Regions from separate parts of the Homo sapiens genome. Here all the other regions are linked to region 3. Evidence: promoter capture Hi-C in human tissues and cell types (Jung and others, 2019). All regions are on one chromosome and are shown on one strand. Each heading gives the region's core, a stretch centred on a gene start or on the middle of the fragment in contact. The rest is flanking DNA. Distances are from core to core; before and after follow the strand shown.

Region 1 (2,700 bases), core at 129-2,628, 580 kb after region 3:
AAAGAGGTGGTAGAAACTGTTAACGCCAAAGTTAAATCAATGCCAAAGTATATGAACTGTCATACACCATTATTAGTAAGCTTCCAACTAAGAGTAAGTTCATGCTCATGTGCCTAAGTCAGTCATATTCACTTCTTTTATAGGGATATATGTTTCTAATATTCTTTATATCATCAAGAAATATTTAAAATAGTAATTTATATACTTTACATATTTTAGTGCCTTTGCTTGTTAGAAATCCAAAAATTTTCCACCAGTCAGTTTTACAGATATTTATGCTTAGCATATTATATTCAAAGACTTAGTTTGTGTCATTTCCCCATAAAATATCTGTAGTTGTAAGTCCTGTGACATTATAACCCTAACATGCCAAACTGAACTTGTTCCACTTGTTAAATATATCAGGTAGTGGAATCATATTGTGTTTGGAATATGCTTAGTTAATGAGGTTTATTTTATAAACAAACATACATCTGCATTTTCATTAGAAATAATCATATAATACATGTGCTTATTTTGATTAACATACCTAGTTAGGTTCCCTACGAAATGTGAATTACACTATTCTAGGCCATTAGAATCACAGATAATTCCCAAACTAGAAAATATAAAGAGAACACTTATTTGTGTGGCTTGTCCAGCTCTATTTGAATATCCTGGCATACAGCATCAGGGCTCATCTACACAATACATAGTTGAATATATTTTAGTAACCTTTTTTTTTTTTTTTTTTTGAGACAAGGACTTGCTCTGTCACCCAAGCTGGAGTGCAGTGGCGCAATCTCCTCTCACTGCAACTTCTTCCTCCTGGGTTCAAGCGATTCTCCTGCCTCAGCCTCCTGAGTCGCTGGGATTACAGGCACATGCCACCATGCCCAGCTAATTTTTGTATTTTTAGTAGAGATGGGATTTCACCATGTTGGTCAGGCTGGCCTCAAACTCCTGACCTCGTGATCTGTCCACCTCAGCCTCCCAAAGTGCTGGGATTACAGGCGTGAGCCACCGCACCCGGCTTTTAGTAACCATTTTATTTCTTTCTTTTTTTTTTTTTTTGAGACGGAGTCTTGCTCTGTCACCCAGGCAGGCTGGAGTGCAGTGGCTCAATCTCAGCTCACTGCAAACTCCGCCTCCTGGGTTCATGCCATTCTCCTGCCTCAGCCTCCCCGGTAGCTGGGACTACAGGCACCCGCCACCATGCCCGGCTAATTTTTTATTTTTATTAGAGACGGGGTTTCACCATGTTAGCCAGGATGGTCTCGATCTCCTGACCTCGTGATCCACCCGCCTTGGTCTCCCAAAGTGCTAGGATTACAGATGTGAGCCACCGTGCCCGGCCTTTAGTAACCATTTTAATACAAGCTTTAGCTCCTGTGTGTCACATCATTTTTCAGACTGATGCTATATTAAAAATGGGACTAAATGCTTAAAATTTTTTTCTATTTTGTCTGTGTACAGTGTTTTTACAAAGTAACACATCTATCTTTTCTTCCATGAAGTTATATAAAAATGAGCAAGGAAAGCTCTGCAATACCTTTTATCTCTGGCCAATTGATTTGTAAAGAAATGCACTAATGGGGGACTTTAAATTACTTCTTCATGTACCTTCTTTTTTATCTGAATTTTATTTTTCACATAAGGATACAAATTTTATTATTCTGCTCCATGCCGTCATAACATGCTTTGGAATGCCAACAGAGCAGGCTTTAGTAAACTCCACCTTGACCACCTCAGTGTTACAGTATGCTTCTCTATGTGTATTTATTATTCTATTTTTTTTTTTTTTACTTTGGATGATTCTTTAAGTGCATTTTCATTGTCAGATTTTAATTTTGTTTGTGTGTCTGCAAAGGCACATCCTCAAAGCTTGGCCTCCACAGGAAGCATTTTAAGATTCTCTTCCTTATAAGAAATTACAAATGAAATTAAAAATCAAGATTTCTTGAGTTCTCTCCTTCATTAAAAAAATTATTAATTATTTTAGAGATAGGATCTTGCTCTATTGCCCAAGCTCGAGTGCAATGGTGTGATCACAACTTACTGCAGGCTCAAACTACCAGGCTCAAGAGATTCTCCTGCTTCAGTCTCCCAAGTTGCTAGGATTACAGTAGCCTGCCCAGCTAATTTTTTTTTTTTTTATTAGTAGAAACAGGCTCTCCCTATGTTGCCCAGACTAGTCTTGAACTCCTGGCCTCAAGCAGTCCTAACACCTTGGCCTCCCAAAGCACTGAGATTACAGGTATGAGCCACTGAGCCCGGCCCCACTTTCACTTTTATTATTCAGAGATTGTGTTTGTTTCCTGGGACCAGATATAGAAGATTTTGCCCCAGGCTTGTCATCTATGAAATAAAATTAGTGCTGCTCTCTCAAATCAAACATGGAGAGGATAAAATAAATGCCTTACAGTGCCCTTTGAAGACACAAAGGAACCAAATCTAATATTTAATTATGATGTTTGTAAACTAGAAGGACAGAGATGGCTAGGTTGTTGGGAGAATTAGCAAAAATTATTTAGTACCAATTAAAGTAACAGAGCTCTGAAATAAAATTTATGTATTTGTAATGTATATTCAGCAAATATTTATTATTTATGTCATGCACTGTCTAGGCTCTAAAATACAATTGATAACAAGATAATCACCCTCTCTTTCCTTCTTAGATCTTACAGTTTTCAGTGTTACAATAAGGAAGTACAAGGTGGT
Region 2 (2,700 bases), core at 158-2,657, 510 kb before region 3:
AACTCCAAATAAATAAATGTACAAACATATAAATAATATCTATTTGAAGGGACACTATATTAGTGAGGATAGTTTATCATATAGTGCCATAATAAATAACTCTAAAATCTCAGTGACTCAAAAAATAGAGGTATATTTCTTACTCACTCAATGTCTTGGTTGGCTGTTCTTCAATTTGAATTTATGCCATCAGAAATACCTTGTAAGTATTTCCAAGTTTACTATAGTAAAGAAATAAAGAGATGGAAGATACACACTGGCTCTTGCCTCCTCTGTCTCAAAGTGGCACCCATTATTTCTGCTTCCAGTATCTTGGACAAAACAGTAGTAGGGATCAGCCTAACTGGTAAATGTAGAGAACATTTACTGTGCCTCAGATGCCACAGTATTTAACTGGCTGGGTGCCTGAATATCTGAGTGTAGCATCAATATTCATATAATGATTGTGAGAATTATATAAAATAACTCAGTAAGAACCTAGCCCTGGGTCTGGCATAAACTTTATATTTAATAATTTTTAGTTTCTTTTTTCTACCACCAATCTCAAAGAAGAAATTTGCCAACCTGACAGAATCAATGTCAGCCATTAATGTGTTCCTAGATACTATAGCCAAAGCATCCTCACATCTTGCTCAGTGTGCCAGAAAGAGTTAGGTCAAAATGAAGGCTACATTCCTGGGACAACTTGCAACCATCTTTTCATATCTCCACTATCACAATTTATCATGACATTCACCTGCTCTAGGTCCTTCTGTGACTCCCTAAGCTTAAAGGAAAAAGTTGAAATTCCTTAATGGGTAACACACAAGACCCTTTTAGAGTTTGTCCTTCACCTCCCTCACTTGCCTCATACATAACACTTGCCTCGCTCACACTCACCCTCCACTCCAGCCCTGACAAATGCCTTCAATGTTCCTGGGCAACTCAGTTTTATGCCATGCCTACCTGCATTAGCAGGTGCCAAGGGATTTTCTTGGAATGTCTTTCATTCACTTTTCACCTATATATTTGTGCTTTAACATCTCTTCAAAAATGCCTTTACTGGCTTTGCCAGTATGACTTAAAGTTGTGTGTCTGTGCCTCACAGCATAGATATAGATTAATCACTACTGAATACTAAGTATGTGCCAGCCCCTGGGCTACCATGTGCATACCTGTATTGCAAATTACTGAATATCAAACATTGACCCAAGGGTCTGTCTCTTCCTCTCAACTGGAAACTCACAGAAGGCGGGAGCTATGTTATATTTGATGCTAGATCTTCAGAGCCTAGAAAGGTGCTTGGCACATTGTGGAAAGACACAAAAATTCATCATATTAGTAAATGCCAACCTCATCATTGCATTGTGTTTTATATATCCAACCACGCCTCTCCCTTTGCCCTGGTTCTGGATTTCCCAGCAAACTACTAATCTAAGTATGCTGCCTCCCTGCCTACTGTCAGCTTCAAATGCCATGGACCACTTCTAACTCCAGCTAGGCAAGGCCCCAATCTCTATTTAATGAATGAGTTTAAGAGGTGGACAATGCATTGTTTGAAACCAGAAAGATCTGAAACCAAACCCTAGATTCACCACTTAGTAATTGCACAAACTCAGGCAGGCTCTCTTAACCTTTAACACTTTAGTTTCTTCATAAGGAAATTAGGACAATTATTTCCATGCCGTGGGGGGGATATTATGAACATTAAAAAAGAATCCTAATTTTGTTGCCTGCCTGCATGCATATCTCTGAATGGAGAAAATTGTACTACAGAAACCTCTTTAAGAAGGGTAGAAATTTATTTTTTTGAAGGAAGGTTCTTAGAGAGCTGTTTGGAATAACAGATAAGACCCTGAAACAGGACTGAATATGTAGAGAACCACCCTGTAAGAGACAGAAAGAATTGTTTCTCAAGAGTAGCAGATGAGCAGGGTAAAAGGGAGGATATAAGAGGGAAAAAAGAGAGTCAGGAAATTGTGGAAGACCTCCCTATGACCCCTCAAATTTTTAATGAGGTCAAAATATATGGTGTATATATTTTGAAGAACTTAGTAGTATATTCTGTCATAGAATAAACAATCTATAAATTATAGATGCAATTATTAAAGTGTTGTCATTATTATTATCCCAGACTTAGTTATCAGTTAATCCCACAAGTTTGCACTCATTAGTCAATTGAAAGAGAGGAAATATTTGTAGGGCAAAAATAATCGAGCTCAGATTTTCTTCTCTCTAGATTTTGTCCCTGGCTTTGCTTTTCACTCCAGGATGGGTTCTTACTCCTATACTGATTTGCTTTGCTCATAGCTGTCCAAGGTGTTTCCTTGACTGGGTCTCTTTTTATCAATTTTATTGAAGTCCAATTTATGTACAAGAAATAGTATTCATTTAAAATATGCAATTTGATGAATTTTAACAAATATATACACCTATAAAACCACAATCAATTACAGAGCATTTTCATCACCCTCAAAAGCTTTCTGGCATCCCTTTGCAGTCCATCCTTCCCTCTCCTCTTACCGCAGGCAAATGCCAATCTGACTTTTATCATAGGAAAGTCTTAATTTGGTAGAATTTTCTATTAATAGAATCAAATGTTGTATGGCCATTTGGGTTGTTTTGGATATGATGAATAATACTGCTATGAACATTCACATACAGGTTTTTGAATGGACCTTTATGCTTTCATTTCTCTTGGGTATCTATCTGAGAGTAGAA
Region 3 (2,700 bases), core at 176-2,675:
CCGCCGGGCCTCAGAAGCCACCAGTCTCCCTACCGCCCGGGAGAAGCGCCTCCCCAACGATCCTGGCCCCCCACCACCACCCAGCCGCGCCTCACCGGGTGCCGGCTCTGCGGGAACATCGCTCTGGCGGCGGCCGGGGCTCTGTTCCCCGGCAACTCAATTCTCCGGTCAATTTCCAACTTTAATCCCGCCGAGGAAAATTAAGCCGGAAAGCCAAGCAGAAGCGGGGAGCGCGCTGGCCACGCACGCGCGCTCCGCCGGGCGCACCGGCCACTCGGCGCCCGCAGCTGCTCCGGCTCCCGCTCCCGTCGGTGCGGGCTCCGGCCCTCAGGGCCACATTAGTGGGCGCCCCAGGCCCAGCTGCTTCAAGAACCTGCGCGGAGACGTCGGGCGCTCGGGGACTGTGCGCGGGGGCAGCGCTCCAACCCCCGGCCTCAGCTGCCCGGGCGGGGAGGCGGGGGCGCGGTGACTCCGACCGCACTCCCCTCGGCGATCCGCGTGCGCGGCGCCAGTCCTGGGCAAACAAATCCAGACGGACTGCTTTTCTTTGCTCTTCTCCTGGTCCGCCTCCTCTTCGGGCTTTCCCCGAGGCGGCGGCGGGCGAGGTGCAGGTGGCGCGGCGGCCCCCGCTAACCCCACACAAACCCGACGCTTTCGGGGCGACTCCCGCAAGATTCGGCTGCGCCTTCGGCCGGGTGCTCGCAGGCTCCCGGGACGCAAAGGGGAGCGAGGTTGAAGACGCAGCGGAGGCTCCTGGCCGGGGAGCGACGGATGACGAGGCGGGGAAAGTGCGGAGGGCGCGCCGGGAGGCGGCTCGGCACGCCCCGTGCGACCAGCACTCGGTGTTCTCCGCGGTTGCACAAACCCTCCGGGCCCGACGGGGCTACTCCACCGAGAGCAGTCCCGCAAGTGCCCAATGCTCCTCGAGCCCGGGGAGCATCAGGGCGCCGCGCCTCGGGCGCACTCGCCCTGCACGGCCGGACCGGCCGCTCCGGACCCTTCTTCCGAGCTCCTTCTTCCTCGGTCTTCTTTCTTTCCTTCCTTCACCTTCGTGTGCTTCTCCGCAAAGGGCGCTCCAGCCCACTGCAAAGTTCTCTCACCACCCGAGGGACGACATCCACGAGATGGTGGGGAAAACAGCAGGAGTGCGCTCCGCCAATCGGCCACCCTCCCCGGCGGGCAAACTCTGCGGGCGAGTCCAGAGTAGTCACAGCGGTGGGGCCAGCGGGGGTTTTGGTCGCCGCGGGACGACGGAGGTCCGGGCTGGTGGCGCGGGTCCCGCCCGGCCGTGCGAGGGTGGGGTGGCGCAGTCGGCTGCCTCCGGGACGCGGGGCACAGAGTACCCGCCGCTGTTTCTGCTGCTGCTGCTTCTGCAGCCGCCGCTCCCACCGCCGCCGCCGCCCGCGCCTCTCGCGCCGCTTACATTAACACGCGGTTTCACACTCCGGAGCTAACCAGCGCCGGCCCCGCCCAGCCCCGTTCGGGCGGGGGGCGCGAGCGCGGAGCCGGCGGGGGACGTGAGCCCGGGAGGTTGGGGGGTGGGGGGGGGGCAGAAGGCCCGCATCAGCCAATCGCGTGCGCTGCAACCAACGTGGGGCGCTGACGCGCTCCTCCCCGGAGCGTATGGCAGCGCAGCGCCGGACGGGGCGTTCTCCCTCCCCCCCTCCTCTCGCTTCCATCTCCGCCGTCTCCTCGGTCTCCCTTCCCATCCCGGCCCCTCCTCCGCCAGCCGCGTCCTCCCGGGCTTGGTGAGGAACTGTTCCTGGAGGAGCCGCGGGACGCCAAAACCAGCCAATGGGAAGCGGCGATTCGCGGAGATTGGCACTGATGATGGGAAGGTCGGTGGGAAGGAGAGCGGCGGGGCTGGGCTGTCAATCAAAGTAACGTGGGGCTGGCTAGAGAGCGCGCGGGCGCGCGCTAGCGGGAGGGACTGGCGAGCGTGCAGCCGGGGAAGCTGAGGGCTCGAGTTAGCAAAAATCCTGCCACTTGCTCACTTTTCCCTTTAATGAAAATCCTCAGATCTAAGTGAAAGTAACTCAAAGACTAGCTGCGGAGTTTCTTATTGGAGGCGGAGGGGGGCTTTTGGTAATTCGAGCAAATGTGTTTTTCAGTGCTGGACCCCTTGTTTGATGCTACTCTAAAAGTGAGGCCACATTCAAAAATTTATCTGAGGTTTGTTTTTCCTTGAGCTGCCTTTTTACGGATGTACGAGAGGGAGTGGACTGTGCACTTAGTTGGAAATGCGTAAATGAGCAACGCCACGGTTGGCGTAGGTACACCAGCAAAGACGACTGTGATGTCCTCCCACCCCACCCACCCCCTTTGCACCCAAAGTGGTAGGATTTGATTTTTATTGCAGGATTTCAAGCCACTTTTCAAAAAGATCGTCCTGTCCCGTTTGGCGGGAAGGATTCCCAGGGTGCTGCCAGAACAAGGCACGCGTGTCCGCAGATGAGACGTTTTGCCCGGGGCGCGAAATCCCAGGTCTTCGTCTTAAAAGTCCTGACTTCGCTGTGTTGGGAGAGGTGGGGAGCGGCTGAGGTTTTTAGGAACTTCTCAGCTACAAGACTACGAGTCTGTTTCCAATTCCTGGGAACAAAGAGAGACAATGTAATAAACCAGCACTGAGACCTGAAAAACCTGTCCCGCACACCCCACCCCCACAGTCTGGGTGGTACTCCTGAGCTGAGCTGTGTGAAG
Region 4 (2,700 bases), core at 17-2,516, 610 kb after region 3:
AAATGGAATGACTTGAAAGGTTTGGAAGCCAGTGGTTTAGTTTTGAGCACATGATGAAGACATTATAAATACTTTACAATGCTACAAAACAACATGCATTCACTTTCTCAAGTGCAGAAGCATTTGTGAAATTCAGCAAAAAACAACTGAAAATTTTTGTGGCAAAAACCTTAAGCCTTTAATTTCTAACTTTTGCTAACCAATTCCTTTGTACTCCAAAGGGTATCAGTAATTTATATTTTGATTTACATATTGTATTCGTCTGTTCAGGCACTGCTATAAAGAAATACTTGAGACTGGGTAATTTATAAATAAAAGAAGTTTTATTGGCTGACAGTTCCTCAGGCTGTACAGGAAGCATGATGCTGACATCTGCTCAGCTTTTGAGGAGCCCTCAGGAAACTTACAATCAGGGCAGAAGGCAAAAGGAAAGCCAGCACTTCACATGACTGGAATGACTGGAGCAGGAGAAAGAGAGAGAGTGGCGAGGTGTCATACTCTTTTAAACAACCAGATCTCTGGATATCTCACTCACTCACTGTCATGAGAACAACACTGAGGGGATGGTGCTAAACCATTCATGAATAATCATCCCCATGATCCAATCACCTCCCACCAGGCCCCACCTCCAACACTGGGGATTACAATTCAACATGAGATTCAGTGAGGACATACATCCAAACCATATCACCTATTATTTGAAATGATTTTAAGTTAACTATTAAAGTTTTCTTTGATGGCTTTAAAAACCAAGTTATACCAACTTTACCACACTTAGGAATTGTGACTTTGAAAGAAATCTGGACATAAGCTCATCTTTTTTGGAGGGTACTGGCACATGTTATATATGAAGGTAGGTACTCATCCCAAACACTGAGATTTCATTATGAAATGGGGCAAGAATAGTTTTATGGAGAATAAGTAAATTCCTAGTGTGAGTGCAAGTTGTCATCTTGATGCCACTGTGATCCTCAGCAAAAGTGATTTATTGTATTGGATTATATTATCCACCTATTTTTTCACATGCTTCTTTTACTATGATATTATGCAGGCAACTATGACCACTGTCGAATGCTCTCTCAGCCACATCTTTTATACTGTGCCAATTAAGCAGAAGGTGGGGAATGTTGTCAGAGGGACTTAAATGTCTCATCTAAAGGTCAGCACCTAATGACAAGACAGCATTTATCCTGAACTGGACTGTAGAGTCAGCACTGGGTTTGAGCCCAGTTGCTGTTGTGGGACTTCAATATACAGTCCTCCAAATGAGAACAGGTGGTGTCAAAGGAACTATACTGGTGTTCAAGATATATCCTAAAATAGATTTAAGCCTCTCCATGACCTCATTTTGCCGCTCGGGCTTGCTTACGAGTGTGTTTTTGGGTGGTGTTAATGTTCCAGTGTTAGCCATTATAATTTATGGACTGACATAGGATCGTTAGCACTGAGCATGGATTGTGCTCAGTAGCCAAGGCATAACTTTTTCCCCTCTGTGTTTCCTACAGCTGGTCAGTGTTTTGTAACCAGGGCACCAACTCTGCAGCCAGTTCGTAACTTTAGATGTTTGATTGGGTGTGTAGTTGGCATCACAGACACGGTTAACCAAGGATAATATTAGAGTATGAGTGACAGTTTCAATATTTTATTCCTGTTAGAACTAGCTTTAGCACAAGTTGAAACCAGGTAACTGAACCTATAGTAAGATTTTATTTAATAAAATCATTTCATGCAAGGTAACAGTAACTGTGACTGTTTAGCCTTGGAGCAGGTGAAGGAGTTAACGATTTTGTCAATTAAAGTTTCATCAAAGTAAGCCATAGATGTTCTATTTCTGGAAAGAGTAATAATGTTACAAGGTTTACAATGAAAACCAGCAGACCTTTGACCTCTTTTTCCCTACTGTCAGTCCTGCTTTCAAGAACCACCACTTTTCATTCTGTCAATGCTTCTGGTATTTGCCACCATTTTTCTATATAACACAGTTATACTTGCGGTTCTTGATTCTTCAGTTTTAGATATTACATATTGAGTTTTTATTTTTATTATGACAGATATGAAAGATAAAGGTTTAACTCTTTTAAACTCCATTTGCCTCCAACATACATTATTCCCCTTCTCCCATCCTCTTTTTCACAATGTTTGGTGAAATCAGTATTTTGTTTCTCATTGTTACTAAATAAATTGGTTCTCAATGGGTGCAGGAATAGTCATTCTTAATGATTGTTCATTAAGACATTATAATAATTAGGTTAAGGGATTTGATGCTGTCAGGGTGATTCCCTGATAACACTGTAGACATAGACAGGGAACAGATACACAGAACAGAGAGAAACAAGCTGCTTCCTGGGCTTGATTGGAACACAGCAATGAAGACATTTGCCCATAACTGTGCTAGGGGTGAAGCAAGTGAGAAAGGGGTATGGGTTAATTAGGAGGGACACTGTGGAGGAGATTGCAAACGTCTTTGCAAGGATTTTTGAAAATGTATGGGGGCATTTTTTGGAGTTCACAATGGTTTGGGGCACAAGTGATGCTTAATGGATGGAGTCCAGGGCTACTAGACCTTGTGCAATGCATGGTCAAAGAGTTGTCCTGCACCCCACCTGAATGTCCTGCTGAAATGCTGTACATAGGTACCTTAGTGTAGATAAAAAACTCATTTATAAATATCTGAACCCAGAACCTGTCAGAATTTTACAT

Evidence for each region. Contacts are between HindIII fragments. The study calls those that stand out against the background at their distance.
Region 1: a fragment that was not itself captured here is called in contact with the fragment with the promoter of TLE1 in region 3 in 2 of the 25 tissues and cell types used here (lymphoblastoid cells and mesenchymal stem cells).
Region 2: a fragment that was not itself captured here is called in contact with the fragment with the promoter of TLE1 in region 3 in 2 of the 25 tissues and cell types used here (mesenchymal stem cells and mesendoderm cells).
Region 4: a contact is called between a fragment that was not itself captured here and the fragment with the promoter of TLE1 in region 3, in 1 of the 25 tissues and cell types used here (mesenchymal stem cells).

The regions. Positions count from the first base shown.
Region 1 is chr9:82,267,051-82,269,750 of GRCh38, forward strand. The region is part of intron 1 of LOC105376107 (a long non-coding RNA gene); the gene reads left to right. Among named protein-coding and RNA genes, the nearest start is that of SPATA31D1, 280 kb to the left of the region's middle. The HindIII fragment of the contact is 5,414 bases long and covers 1-2,700 here.
Region 2 is chr9:81,176,031-81,178,730 of GRCh38, forward strand. No RefSeq gene overlaps it. Among named protein-coding and RNA genes, the nearest start is that of TLE1, 510 kb to the right of the region's middle. The HindIII fragment of the contact is 4,846 bases long and covers 1-2,700 here.
Region 3 is chr9:81,688,122-81,690,821 of GRCh38, forward strand. It overlaps TLE1 (TLE family member 1, transcriptional corepressor), which reads right to left and starts at 1,426. Exons shown (of 20, transcript NM_005077.5): 1 at 96-1,426. The coding sequence starts at 119. It overlaps TLE1-DT (TLE1 divergent transcript), which reads left to right and starts at 1,592. Exons shown (of 4, transcript NR_109772.1): 1 at 1,592-1,838. RefSeq lists an enhancer at 737-1,451 and silencers at 1,324-1,673, 1,824-1,973. The HindIII fragment of the contact is 9,578 bases long and covers 1-2,700 here.
Region 4 is chr9:82,294,003-82,296,702 of GRCh38, forward strand. All of the region lies in intron 4 of LOC105376107 (a long non-coding RNA gene), which reads left to right. Among named protein-coding and RNA genes, the nearest start is that of SPATA31D1, 310 kb to the left of the region's middle. The HindIII fragment of the contact is 5,658 bases long and covers 1-2,700 here.